Regions from separate parts of the Homo sapiens genome. Here region 2 is linked to region 1. The links are contacts of gene promoters, found by promoter capture Hi-C in blood cells and fetal thymus (Javierre and others, 2016). All regions are on one chromosome and are shown on one strand. Each heading gives the region's core, a stretch centred on a gene start or on the middle of the fragment in contact. The rest is flanking DNA. Distances are from core to core; before and after follow the strand shown.

The links. Contacts are between HindIII fragments. The CHiCAGO score rates a contact against its expected background, and 5 or more counts as called.
Region 2: a fragment that was not itself captured here is called in contact with the fragment with the promoter of ACTRT3 in region 1 in 1 of 17 cell types (activated CD4 T cells); the score reaches 6.7 in activated CD4 T cells.

Annotation. Positions count from the first base shown.
Region 1 is chr3:169,765,996-169,772,647 of GRCh38, reverse strand. ACTRT3 (actin related protein T3) reads left to right here and starts at 3,087. Exons shown (of 2, transcript NM_032487.5): 1 at 3,087-3,327; 2 at 4,298-5,727. The coding sequence starts at 3,128. The coding sequence ends at 5,216. TRV-AAC1-1 (tRNA-Val (anticodon AAC) 1-1) reads right to left here and starts at 418; the gene lies at 346-418. RefSeq lists enhancers at 603-702, 2,863-3,007, 3,099-3,358, 4,220-4,364, cis regulatory regions at 2,935, 4,292 and a silencer at 2,949-3,018. The HindIII fragment of the contact is 4,942 bases long and covers 590-5,531 here.
Region 2 is chr3:170,278,621-170,285,272 of GRCh38, reverse strand. PRKCI (protein kinase C iota) reads right to left here. Exons shown (of 18, transcript NM_002740.6): 9 at 4,870-5,046; 10 at 4,010-4,107; 11 at 3,305-3,391; 12 at 677-812. Among named protein-coding and RNA genes, the nearest start is that of PRKCI, 60 kb to the right of the region's middle. The HindIII fragment of the contact is 3,853 bases long and covers 1,168-5,020 here.

The sequences.
Region 1 (6,652 bases), core at 1,838-4,337:
GGAGGCGACAGGACTAACCACTTTTACACTTTGATCTTTCCTTCTAGGCTGTACATTATTTTTTCAGTGTTAGCTGGTGAGTCAAATTCATTTTTTAAAACCCGGGACACATGTTCCACGTGGCAAGGCTTCCATAAAAACATTTGGTGAACGAATAAAGTAACAAAAACTTACAGTTCAGACTCTCAAATTGCTATCATGTCTTTTGAAGGACCGGCATACATTAAGCTAAGGCTTCCCTCAGAAAAAAAAACAAAACAAACAACAAAAGAAAACAAAGCGTGATCTCACGCTTTCTTCCAAGCGAAGGAAAAAAAAAAAAAAAAAAAAAGGGATTTTTTAGTGTGTTTCCGCCCGGTTTCGAACCGGGGACCTTTCGCGTGTTAGGCGAACGTGATAACCACTACACTACGGAAACCCCACTTTGGAGAGGGTTTTGTAAAGTCCTTGATATGTAAGTGTCAATTCGCAATTCTCAAGTGATTATTATCAAATTGAGAGGAATGAATATAATGTATTTAAAGAAAAAAACAGAAAAGGAAAAATAGCCTATGCCCAATTGAACAGAGCTGAAACCATTTCAAAAGCTTGAATCTGCACGCACTTTCTTCCAAAGTGCCCGGGTACCGCAGTAGAAACCAGGCACTCCCGAGTTGCCCTTCCTTTGGGTGGCCTTTTTTTTTTTTGTCTCCCTGGAAAGGCGTTTTATTACACATCCTTTCCGCAGGTTGAGCTGCTCAGAGTCCGGGGCGAAGCAGGGGGCTTTCGTTATTCAGCCGCGAAAAAGCCATCCTTTCAGCTTCTGGTGGAAGGACGTGTAAAATTACTTTTGAATTTCCTCTTTTTGCTTCCGAAGACCAAGCAGAAGTTCTAAATTGACTGCTTGTTTTCAAATTCTCTACAGATGTATGCAGAATCAGACACCAAGATGCGTTTATTGACATGCAATGTACTTTCAAATTTTTCCAAACTTGAATTTCATATGACCTGATAAACTTCACTTTTCCTGCAAAAAGACAGGCACGTCCTTCAGCCTAAAAATCAAGAGTAGCGAATGAGGCTTGCAGATTACACCAGAAGGATAGAAATCGAAATATATATATTTATATTTATTATATATAAATATAAATTTTTATATATTTATTATATATAAACATAAATTTTTATATATTTATTATATATAAACATAAATTTTTATATATTTATTATATATAAACAAATTTTTATATATTTATTATATATAAACATAAATTTTTATATATTTATTATATATAAACATAAATTTTTATATTTATTATATATAAACAAATTTTTATATTTATTATATATAAACATAATTTTTTATATATTTATTATATATAAACATAATTTTTTATATATTTATGATATATAAATATAATTTTTTATATATTTATGATATATAAATATAATTTTTTATATATTTATGATATATAAATATAATTTTTTATATATTTATGATATATAAATATAATTTTTTATATATTTATGATATATAAATATAAATTTTTATATATTTATGATATATAAATATAAATTTTTATATATTTATGATATATAAATATAAATTTTTATATATTTATGATATATAAATATAAATTTTTATATATTTATGATATATAAATATAAATTTTTATATATTTATGATATATAAATATAAATTTTTATATATTTATGATATATAAATATAAATTTTTATTTATGATATCTAAATATAAATTTTTATTTATGATATCTAAATATAAATTTTTATTTATGATATCTAAATATAAATTTTTATTTATGATATCTAAATATAAATTTTTATTTATGATATCTAAATATAAATTTTTATATATGATATCTAAATATAAATTTTTATATATGATATCTAAATATAAATTTTTATATATGATATCTAAATATAAATTTTTATATATGATATCTAAATATAAATTTTTATATATGATATCTAAATATAAATTTTTATATATGATATATAAATATAAATTTTTATATATGATATATAAATATAAATTTTTATATATTTATGATATATAAATATAAATTTTTATATATTTATGATATATAAATATAAATTTTTATATATTTATATTTATGATATATAAATATAAATTTTTATATATTTATATTTATGATATATAAATATAAATTTTTATATATTTATATTTATGATATATAAATATAAATTTTTATATATTTATATTTATACATATAATAAATATAAATATAAATTTTTATATATTTATATTTATACATATAATAAATATAAATATATATATTTCGATTTATATCCTTGCTTAAATATATAAATATATATTTTATAAATATATAAATATATTTATATAATATAACATATATTTATATAAATTATATAAATTTATATATTTTTTAATATTTTATATTTAAATTTATATATATTTATATAAATATATATAAATTTATATTTATTTACATATTTAAGCTAGGAACTACTATTTTGTTTTAATTGCGTACATTTTGCTTGGAAATCACAGGAAGAAACACAACAAAGCATTGCCCAAGGTACAGAAACAATAATAAACGTACTTAAAACTCATTTAAATTCCAGCATTTTTCTCCTTATTTTAGAAGTTTAACATTTCAGAAGCAGACACTGCCTCCCTTCCTGCAACAACTTTCTCCTCTTAAGTCTCATTTTTCCCCAGTTTCAAGGGCGAATTCTAGAACTCCCCGGAACCGCCACCAGTTAACCAGAATTCCGTGGCTTTGGAAAATAAAACTGCTGTTATAGCTCTTCTGGGTATTTGAGAAATGCACTTGTGAAGGGTTAGAGTTGAATCTTTTGATGCGAAAGTCGGGTTTTCCTGATACTGGGATTCCGGGATTCCAGGTGTTGGGGTGGCCCAATTCCTGCGAGAAGCAATAGCGGGCGGTAACATGAGGAGCACGGTGCGTCCAGCGAGTCCTTCCGCCTGGGGCCCTGCCGACCCCCTGCCTGCGCCCCCAGGACTCTGGCCTCACCCGGCCGTGCCGGGGCCTCTGTGACGCGGCGTTCCAGGCACTCGGCCCCGGCCGAGCCCGTAGCTAGAGCGGCTCAGAGACAGGAGGCGGCGGCAGCAGCGGCGGCATGAACCACTGCCAGCTACCGGTGGTGATCGACAACGGCTCGGGAATGATCAAGGCGGGCGTGGCTGGGTGCCGGGAGCCCCAGTTTATCTACCCGAACATTATCGGCCGCGCCAAGGGCCAGAGCCGCGCGGCCCAGGGCGGGCTAGAACTCTGCGTGGGCGACCAAGCTCAGGACTGGAGGAGCTCGCTGTTCATCAGGTACCTCCTTCTCCCAGCAGGCTGCTGGGGCTGGGGAGGGTGGGTGGGGTGGGGGTGGGGTAGGGTGGGGCTGGGGAGGTTGGGGGGTGGGGCTGGGGTGGCTGGGGGTGGGGGGACTGGGGGTGTTGTCGGGGGGCAGGAAAGGACCCCAAAGGAGGTGCGCAATGGGGACAGAAAGAATAAGAAAGCCGGGAGCTGGAAAGCCCCATCCAGCTGGAATTACTACAAACGCACGGGCCACAAATCTCCAAGGGTACCACACATCTAAAAACTGAACATTTTGCTCTCTGTGGCTATACAAATGTATTAAAACGTATAAAGTTATCGAACGAATTCATTTAAGAATATTAACTCATGGTCCCTTTTGTCACTTGGGTTATTCTCTTCAATTGACATTTAAACTATACTATAATGTGGACATTTCCCAATTTTTTAAAAGTCACAAGGTTCCAAAGGACAGAGAAAATGGAAAGCAACAAAAATCGCAGAGGTAGGCCGGGCGCGGTGGCTCACGCCTGTAATCCTAGCACTTTGGGAGGCCGAGCAGGGCGGATCACGAGGTCAGGAGTTCGAGACCATCGTGGCTAACACGGTGAAACCCCGTCTCTACTAAAAATACAAAAAAATTAGCCGGGCGTGGTGGCGCGCGCCTGTAGTCCCAGCTACTCAGGAGACTGAGGCAGGAGAATGGCGTGAACCCGGGAGGCGGAGCTTGCAGTGAGCTGAGATCGCGCCACTGCACTCCAGCCTGGGTGACAGAGCGAGACTCTGTCTCCAAAAAAAAAAAAAAAAATTGCAGAGGTAAGTAGCTGTGCTATTTTTGGCTGACACTTACCTGCTGTGAGAGGCTGTGGCAGTTATTGCCCATAAAGGGATATTGGTAATAAACGCGGGGAATTAACTGAGGGTCGAAGACAATAGAAACTAGAAAAATAAAAAGCTGTCATTGATCTTATTGCTTTCCTTACAGTTACCCAGTGGAGCGTGGTCTCATTACTTCATGGGAGGACATGGAGATCATGTGGAAGCATATCTATGACTATAACCTAAAGCTGAAGCCGTGTGATGGCCCAGTCTTGATTACTGAGCCAGCGCTGAACCCACTGGCCAACCGGCAACAGATCACGGAAATGTTTTTTGAGCATCTGGGTGTTCCTGCCTTCTATATGTCCATCCAGGCTGTGCTGGCTCTCTTTGCTGCTGGCTTCACTACTGGCCTTGTGCTGAATTCAGGTGCTGGGGTTACCCAGAGTGTGCCCATCTTTGAGGGTTACTGTCTGCCTCATGGTGTGCAGCAACTGGATCTGGCAGGCCTTGACCTCACCAACTACCTCATGGTGCTAATGAAGAACCATGGTATCATGTTGCTCAGTGCTTCAGACAGAAAGATTGTTGAAGACATCAAGGAGAGCTTTTGTTATGTGGCAATGAACTACGAAGAGGAAATGGCCAAGAAACCCGATTGTCTAGAGAAAGTTTACCAACTACCTGATGGGAAGGTCATCCAGCTCCATGACCAGCTCTTTTCTTGTCCAGAGGCCCTCTTCTCTCCGTGTCATATGAACCTTGAGGCCCCTGGCATTGATAAGATATGCTTCAGCAGCATAATGAAATGTGATACAGGCCTGAGGAATTCCTTCTTTTCCAATATTATCCTTGCCGGGGGATCAACCTCTTTCCCTGGTTTAGACAAGCGGTTAGTTAAGGATATAGCAAAGGTGGCTCCTGCCAACACCGCTGTGCAAGTTATAGCTCCTCCAGAAAGGAAAATATCAGTGTGGATGGGAGGTTCTATTCTTGCATCCTTGTCTGCCTTCCAGGACATGTGGATCACTGCTGCAGAATTTAAAGAAGTTGGACCCAACATAGTACACCAAAGATGCTTCTGAAATACAGATAAAATGGTTGGAAGAAAATGTTTTGAGTATATGTGACAGAAAACTTTGGATATTATATGTTTCTGGGAGAAGAGAAAATACTTCACCTATTGGGATGCCAATATTTCTGTTGTATTTCTATAATGGGTTTGGGGGATAATAATGGTGAAGCTCAAGAACAGATGTCTATTGAGTAGAACCAAGTTAAAATAATGTTTCCCATAGTGTTTCTTCTATAACTTGACGTTGGTGAGCTTATATTTCCCTTGGAAGAGAGCATTTGTGGTACAATATGCTATGTGCCAAATGAGTGATAAGATTTAAGCTTATTGAAGTTTAGGGAAAGAAGGTTGCTGTGGTGAGGAACGAGACTCCATAGCAGAGGTATGCCATCATGGAAGGGGTGGCATTGGGATGGAGCGCAGATATCCAGGCAAGCATACTAAAATGAACAAGTTGCTAAAGATGAGAATGAACAAAGCATATTCAGGGCATGTTTAATAGACTGATTTTGTTTTTAAAATTTTTGTTTATGTATGTATTTATTCATTTATTTAGTTTTAGAGGCAGAGTCTTGCCCTGTGTCCCAGGCTGGAGTGCAGTAGTGCAATCATAGCTCACTGCAGCCTCCAACTCCTGGGCTCTGCCCTCAGCCTCCCAAGTAACTGAATCCACAGGTATGCACCACCACGCCTAAGTTTAGACTGATTTTGTTCAAGTCAAGAGCTCATATAGAGCAGAACAAGCGCTATGACTAGCAAGGTTAAGTGAAGGCCAGGGACTGAAAGGCTTAAAGTGCTAAATATCCAATATGCAAAGGAGAGAAATTAAAGATTTAAAAGCAGGAGCCATAAGGAAACTATGTTATGATGAATGTGATAGTTTGGAGAATAAATTGAATGAGGAAGGCCCTGGAGATTTGGTGATCAGTTAGAAAGTTACTAGTCCACATATAAAGTGCCAAGTCTTGTACTCAAGATTATAAGCAATAGGAATTTAAAAAAAGAAATTATGAAAACTGACAAGATTTAGTGCCTACTTAGATATGAAGGGGAAAGAAGGGTTTGAGATAATGTGGGATGCTAAGAGAATGGTGGTAGTGTTGACATATAACTCAAAGCATTTAGCATCTACTCTATGTAAGGTACTGTGCTAAGTGCAATAGTGCTAAAAACAGGAGTCAGATTCTGTCCGTAAAAAACTTTACAACCTGGCAGATGCTATGAAAGAAAAAGGGGATGGGAGAGAGAGAAGGAGGGAGAGAGATGGAGAGGGAGATATTTTACTTTTCTTTCAGATCGAGGACCGACAGCGACAACTCCACGGAGTTTATCTAACTGAATACGAGTAAAACTTTTAAGATCATCCTGTCATTTATATGTAAAACTGCACTATACTGGCCATTATAAAAATTCGCGGCCGGGTGCGGTGGCTCATACCTGTAATCC
Region 2 (6,652 bases), core at 1,845-4,344, 510 kb before region 1:
CCCGTCTCTTCTAAAAATACAAAAACTTAGCTGGGCGTGGTGGCAGGCGCCTGTAGTCCCAGCTACTCGGGAGGCTGAGGCAGGAGAATGGCGTCAACCCGGGAGGCGGAGCTGGCACTGAGCCGAGATTGCGCCACTGCACTCCAGCCTGGGGGACAGAGCAAGACCCTGTCTCAAAAAAAAAAAAAAAAAAAGAAATGAAGACATATTCCGGGAGTAACTGAAATTCTTGTTTTATCCTATTATGCTTTATGTCAGATGTTTAAAATTTAAATATAAAAAATGTTTGACTTCTGAGGAAAATCCTGAATGCATTATATAAGATTCACTACTAAATGGCAAAAATTGGAAGGTCATATGCAAATGGTTGTGTTAAGTAGTGGAATTGCAGACAATTTTTATTTCCAAATTGTCTTCAATTGTATTTCAACTTTCAAGATAAAAAGTTATGTATAATAAAAAGAAATTAGCTCTTATTGTAGTACACATAACACAGAAGATACAAATTTTGCAAATGGTTAGAAAAAAAGTACATTTGTCTTTGTGCTAGAATTCCACAAAGCTTAAGTAAATTAGCAAAATTAGTAATCATTTCCTCATCTTTAAACATGAAGTTATTTTACAAAGACTACTAGCTGCTGAAGACCTTTTAAAATAACTAGAAAATTTTCCTCACCTTACACATGCCGTAGTCAGTGAGTTTAATGTGGCCTTCAGAGTCCAGTAATACATTGTCCAGTTTCAAATCTCTATAAATTATCCCTCGCTCATGAAGATAATTTAATGCTAGACTGATTTCTGCAGAGTAAAATCTAAAATTAAATAAAAAATAAGTCATTTGATTCAACCATATTTAAGTTCTACATTTACAACTGGAAACACAAAAATTCATATTAAAACATATTTTTTTCTCCCAGTGATTTTAGGAACAAATTTGAAAAATGAACTGAAGTACCACTTTAAAACATCTGAGCCCAAGACACAATTGTAAAAGTTCCTGTCTAACTTAAACTCACATTTTTCATAAAGCTATTAATTTGATAGTCTCAAACAGGGGTTCTCAATCTGGGTCCTTGGGTGAACTTCAGGCAGTCCATACTTCTACAACTGGGGGCAAAGGTGTATGCCCGTATGTACATGCACAGTATCTACAGAGTCCTCAAAGCTTTCATCACTTCTCTAAGGGACCCGTGATCCTCCGAGAAGGCTAAGAACCACTAATGGGGTCGAGAATAGAAAGAATACTACAAGCTGACTACTCAATACTATAAAATCCTCATGAAGGTTTTAGAAAAGGAATTAAATGAAAATATTCTACAACTATAAACAACTGTAAAATTTAATATTAAATGAAGAACTTAAAAAAACTGCTACCAACTCACTGGTGACAACCCAGAACTTTTGGCCTGAATAATGAAAATGGAATGCCTGAGCTGATGTATGGCTGCTTTGGTGGCACATTATCATGATCATGTGTGGAGGTACGTAACATACACCTCCTAGCTACTTAATTCCGTGATTTGGGAACTTAAGCCCTTGTCCTGGGCTTTAGTTCTTACAAAAGCAAAGATGGTATAAAACCAAAACTGGCACATTAATATAGTAAAAACCAGACTAGCTTTCCCACATTCAACTGAACAAACAAGGAACAAATATTGGCTATGTTCACAATTCAAAATATCATCTGTGGCTCTATGAAGGGTGACCATTTGATAAGGCATAAATACACAATGAACATAAATGAACACCAAAACAACAACAAAAAAACCCAAATAAACAAAAAACCCAGGTTGGCCTCAAGATTAGACAAGTACAATTTATATCTTCTTATGAAATTTTTGACAAGCAATAATGAAGTAGCAAATTTTCTACAAGTTTTTAATTTAAATGAAATTTCTAATATTTATTCCCTGCATGATAATAACATACATATACAAACTCACATGCTTCATTTTGGCATTACTCTTGTGAAGTAGGAAAGGGTGAGAATTACTGCTGATTACGGATAAGAAACAAAACATGGTACTGATGGATTAAACTTTTTACTCAAGGCCATGATCCCTTCCCACCTATCTCCTCCATCCAACACATAAACAATTTACAGTCTTGTATATTAATATCAAATTAAGGGCACAAAATTAATATTCAATACTTTTTTTTTTTTTTTTGAGACGGAGTCTCGCTCTTTCACCCAGGCTGGAGTGCAGTGGCGCAATCTCAGCTCACTGCAACCTCCGCCTCCCGGGCTCAAGCGATTCTCCTAATTCAGCCTCCCAAGTAGTTGGGACCACAGGTGCCCGCCACCACGCCCGGCTAATTTTTATATTTTTAGTAGAGATGGGGTTTCACCATGTTGGCCAGGATGGTCTCGATTTCTTGACCTCATGATCCACCCGCCTCGGCCTCCCAAAGTGCTGGGATTACAGGCATGAGCCACTGCGCCTGGCCTATTCGATATTATTTTATTCATCAATAATTATGGGATTAGAGGAAAAAAAAGCCAAAGAACAATAAATCACAGGAAGAACAGTCAGAAGTATATACTAGTTTAAGAGGGATCTTTTTTTTTTTTTTTTGAGACAGAGTCTTGCTCTGTTGGCCAGGCTGGAGTGCAGTGGTGCGATCTGGGCTCACTGCAACCTCCGCCTTCCGGGTTCAGACAATTCTCCTGCCTCAGCCTCCTGAGTAGCTGGGATTACAGGCACCCGCCACCACGACCAGCAAATTTTTGTATTTTTAGTAGAGACAGGGTTTCACCATGTTGGCCAGGCTGGTCTCAAACTCCTGACCTCAGGTGATCCGCCCGCCTCAGCCTCCCAAAGTGCTGGGATTAGAGGTGTGAGCCACTGTGCCCAGCCAGAGGGATCGTTTAATTACTCTCAAGTATGTATGAATAGCACTCTTATCGTGAAGAACTCTCTGAGAGACCACTACAAACCTGAAAAGACTAATAAGTGTTTATTAGTCTCAATTATTTAAATGGCTGATGCTACATAGACATAATATTTGAAAAGGATTGGTTTTAGCAGACTAAAGGTTTGCCTTTTAATACTGTTCACACTTTTCAATTGCTTAGGAAGCACTGTGTGCATGTGTATGTACATGTATGTGTATAAATGTAAAAGAATATATAATTGTTTTACATATATATAATGTAAATTAACTTTTAGCTCAGCCTCTGCATGACTTACAAATAATTAACTAGTATCAAAATAAATTATTTATCTACTGTTTCCAACCACTGCACATAAAAAGCCACATGGCCCCAAAAAGAAAACAACACAAACAGTAAACAAAAACTCACCTGGCATGTTCTTCAGGAAGTTTTCTTTGTCGCTGCATATGAAACATTAGGTCTCCTCCATTTACATACTCTATAACAAAGAACAATCTAAAACACAGGAGAGAACCCATGAAATCAAGATCCAAAATAAGGTAGTGTAACTTTGCATTTTCAGAAACCATCACAACAGAGAGCATTCTCTACTATTTAGCCTTTAAAAAGATGCCAAAATTTTGGTGGAAACAAAGGGTATCTAGGGTACGGAACATACGAGAAAGTAAACCAGCATGATAATAATTTTGTAACCTACTACTTCTGTTCTAAAGTAGTACCACTTGCAATCCAGAGCCACTCATTACCATCCTAATTTTAGCATTTGCTAAATAAGTCATTTTCGACTGTCAAGGTATTTTTCCTCCTTGTTAAATGCTAGAAAATTTTAAGTCATAAAACTAGAATACTGGGGATATTTAAAAGGTTGGATTTCTACTGCCATAATTACGACATGGCTATTTCCTGTTCTGCCTAAAGTAGGTCATTTCCTAATGCTGATCTAATATCAAACTGATATCACTGATGGCAGTATTATTAGCAGGAAGTTATAAGCCTAACACTGTTGCATCCTCCATGATATCAACTTCATGAATTAGGGCAGAAAGGTTCTAACTGTGTAATATGACCAAAAATATGAAGCCCAGTAATCATTCTACTATCTTTCAATCTTACCTGCTTTCTGTCTGAAAGCAAGAATGCAGCCCAACAAGGAAAGGATGATTGGATGCCTGCTCAAACACATGCTTCTCTGTCTGTACCCAATCAATATCCTATTTTGAAACATGTAAGAAATCTATGTCAAACTGATATCACAATTAATGATAAATTTGCTCTGAGCAATTCAATGGTCACAAATGCAATGGTTAACTAGGCTAAATATCAAAACCATTGATAATCATGAAACGAAAATTTACATACAAAGAGAAAAATAACACTAGTCAATCTTTCAGTATTATAAAACTGTCTAGAAAACTTTTACAAAGCTCAAGTATTTCTCCTGATAATAATGTGGTTTGATTTTTGTTTTTTTAAAAAAATCTAATAATCAAATTACTTTAAATATCTTATACCATCTATAAGAAAAGTAAACCGAAATAATATATTTCATTTACTTAGCACATATTTAGAAAAGCAGAATGAGATAATAAAGCACAAACATAGAGGTTTTCTTTAAAATAGTACTCTTGGCTGGGTGCGGTGGCTCACGCCTATATTCCTAGCAACTTTGGGAGGCTGAGGCGGGTGGATCACTTGAGGTCAGGAGTTCAAGAGCAGCCTGGCCAACATGGTGAAACCCCATCTCTACTAAAAATACAAAAATTAGCTGGGCATAGTGGTGCATGCCTGTAATCCCAGCTACTTGGGAGGCTGAGGCAGGAGAATCACTTGAACCTGGGAGGCAGAGGTTGCAGTGAGCCAAGATTGCACCACTAGCACTCCAGGCTGGGTGACAAGAGCGAAACTCCGTTTCAAAAAAAAAAAAGAATAGTATTCTCAAGCAGTTTAGAAGCAATAAAATATGCAGTGCTTACCTCATCATCATTAACAAGCTCTTTTTTCACAACTTTCATTGCATAAATACGATCTGTTTTTTTTAATCGAACCAACAGTACTTTGGCATAACTTCCTCTTCCTATTACCCGGAGCAAATCAAAATCCTGAAGACCTAGACTGGATGAAGCTTTGCCACTTTCCCTGGTGTTCATTGCCTGTTGAGAACATTTGTATCAGAGTTATAATGGGAAATGCTTTGCGTAGTACATTATATTTCTAACACCTAGTTGTACCTATAACGATTTAAAGATATTTTCCTAACATAAAAATATTTTAAGTTCTTAATATTTTTCAAATGTCATTCCAAACCAAATAATCTAACTATCCAGATTATATGGATGAATTTTGAGATAAGAGGGATGGTAATAAGAATGGGGAGGGAGTTGAAATCACAAAAACATCGAAGGATGTCTTAAAAAGGATACGATAACTTTTGGGTACAGAGGCAATAGAGATGCAGGAATTAAAAAAACACATTAACCTTGGTGACCAAGAGATTGGGGGTACCACTGACAGGGAACGTCAAGTGTGTGGCTAGGATAAGATTGACAAAGTTACTGGAGAGAACGATTGGGTTTTTCATGATAAATTCAGAAGTTATAATGAGACATCAAGATGAAAGAGTCTGCTGGAAGCTTGATACATAGAATGTAAGCTAGTGAGAGCACACATTCAGAGGCGTTTTTGGATGCTATAGACAGAAAACAAGCATGAAGTAGTTCAGCGAATGGAAGACATTCTTTTCCACAGAATACCAAGACCCCTTTGGGACGACAAAGTAAGCCTTAAAATTCATTCACAACTACAAATGTAAGCTTCTAGCAATTTACAGAGAAGCCTGAAGACAGTCTTTTATTAGATGCCTGCAAAATCATCAGCACACAATGGACCCATGAGAATAAAGTATGAAATCTCTGAAGTGAAGAATACCAAGAAAAGCAAATAGTAAATTTTGAGAAAGATAAAGAAACCCGCAAGCACAAAACTGAAAGAAGGGTATTAGAAAAACTGAGTGAGAATGACAACTTAAAAACTTAGAAATAATAATTTAGGCTGCGCACAGTGGCTCATGCCTGTATTTTCAGCACTTAGGGAGGCTGAAGCAGGTGGACTGATTGAGCCCAGGAGTTCAAGACCAGCCTGGGCAATGTGCCAAGAAACCTCATCTCTACCAAAATATACAAAAATTAGCCGGATGTTGGTGGTGTGCACTGTAGTCCCAGCTACCTGGGAGGCTGAGGTGGGAGGATCACCTGAGCCAGGCAGGTCAAGGTTGCAGTGAGCTGTGATTGTGCCAGTGCGCTCCAGCCTGCATCACAAAGTGAGACCCTGTCAATAATAGTAATAATAATAATAATTTGATTTGGTAACAAGGTGATAGTTTGTATATCTGACCCCTCCAAATCTCAAATCTCATGCTGAAATGTGATCCCTAGTGGGAGGTGTTTGGGTCACAGGGACAGATTCCTCATGAATGGCTTGGTGTGTTCCTGTGTAATGAGTGAGTTCAGAGTGTGGCACCTCCCCTGACTCCCTTGCTCCCTCTCTTGCCATGTGGCACACCTGCTTCCCCTTTGCCTTCTGCCAAGACTGAAAGCTTCCTGAGAAGCAGATGCTAGTGCAATACTTACTGATCAGCCTGCAGAACCGTGCACCAAATAAATCTTGTATAAATTACCCAGCCTTAGGTATTCCTTTATTCCTTCCTTCATTTATTTATTTATTTAAGAAAAGGTCTTGTTCTGTCACCCAGGCTGCAGT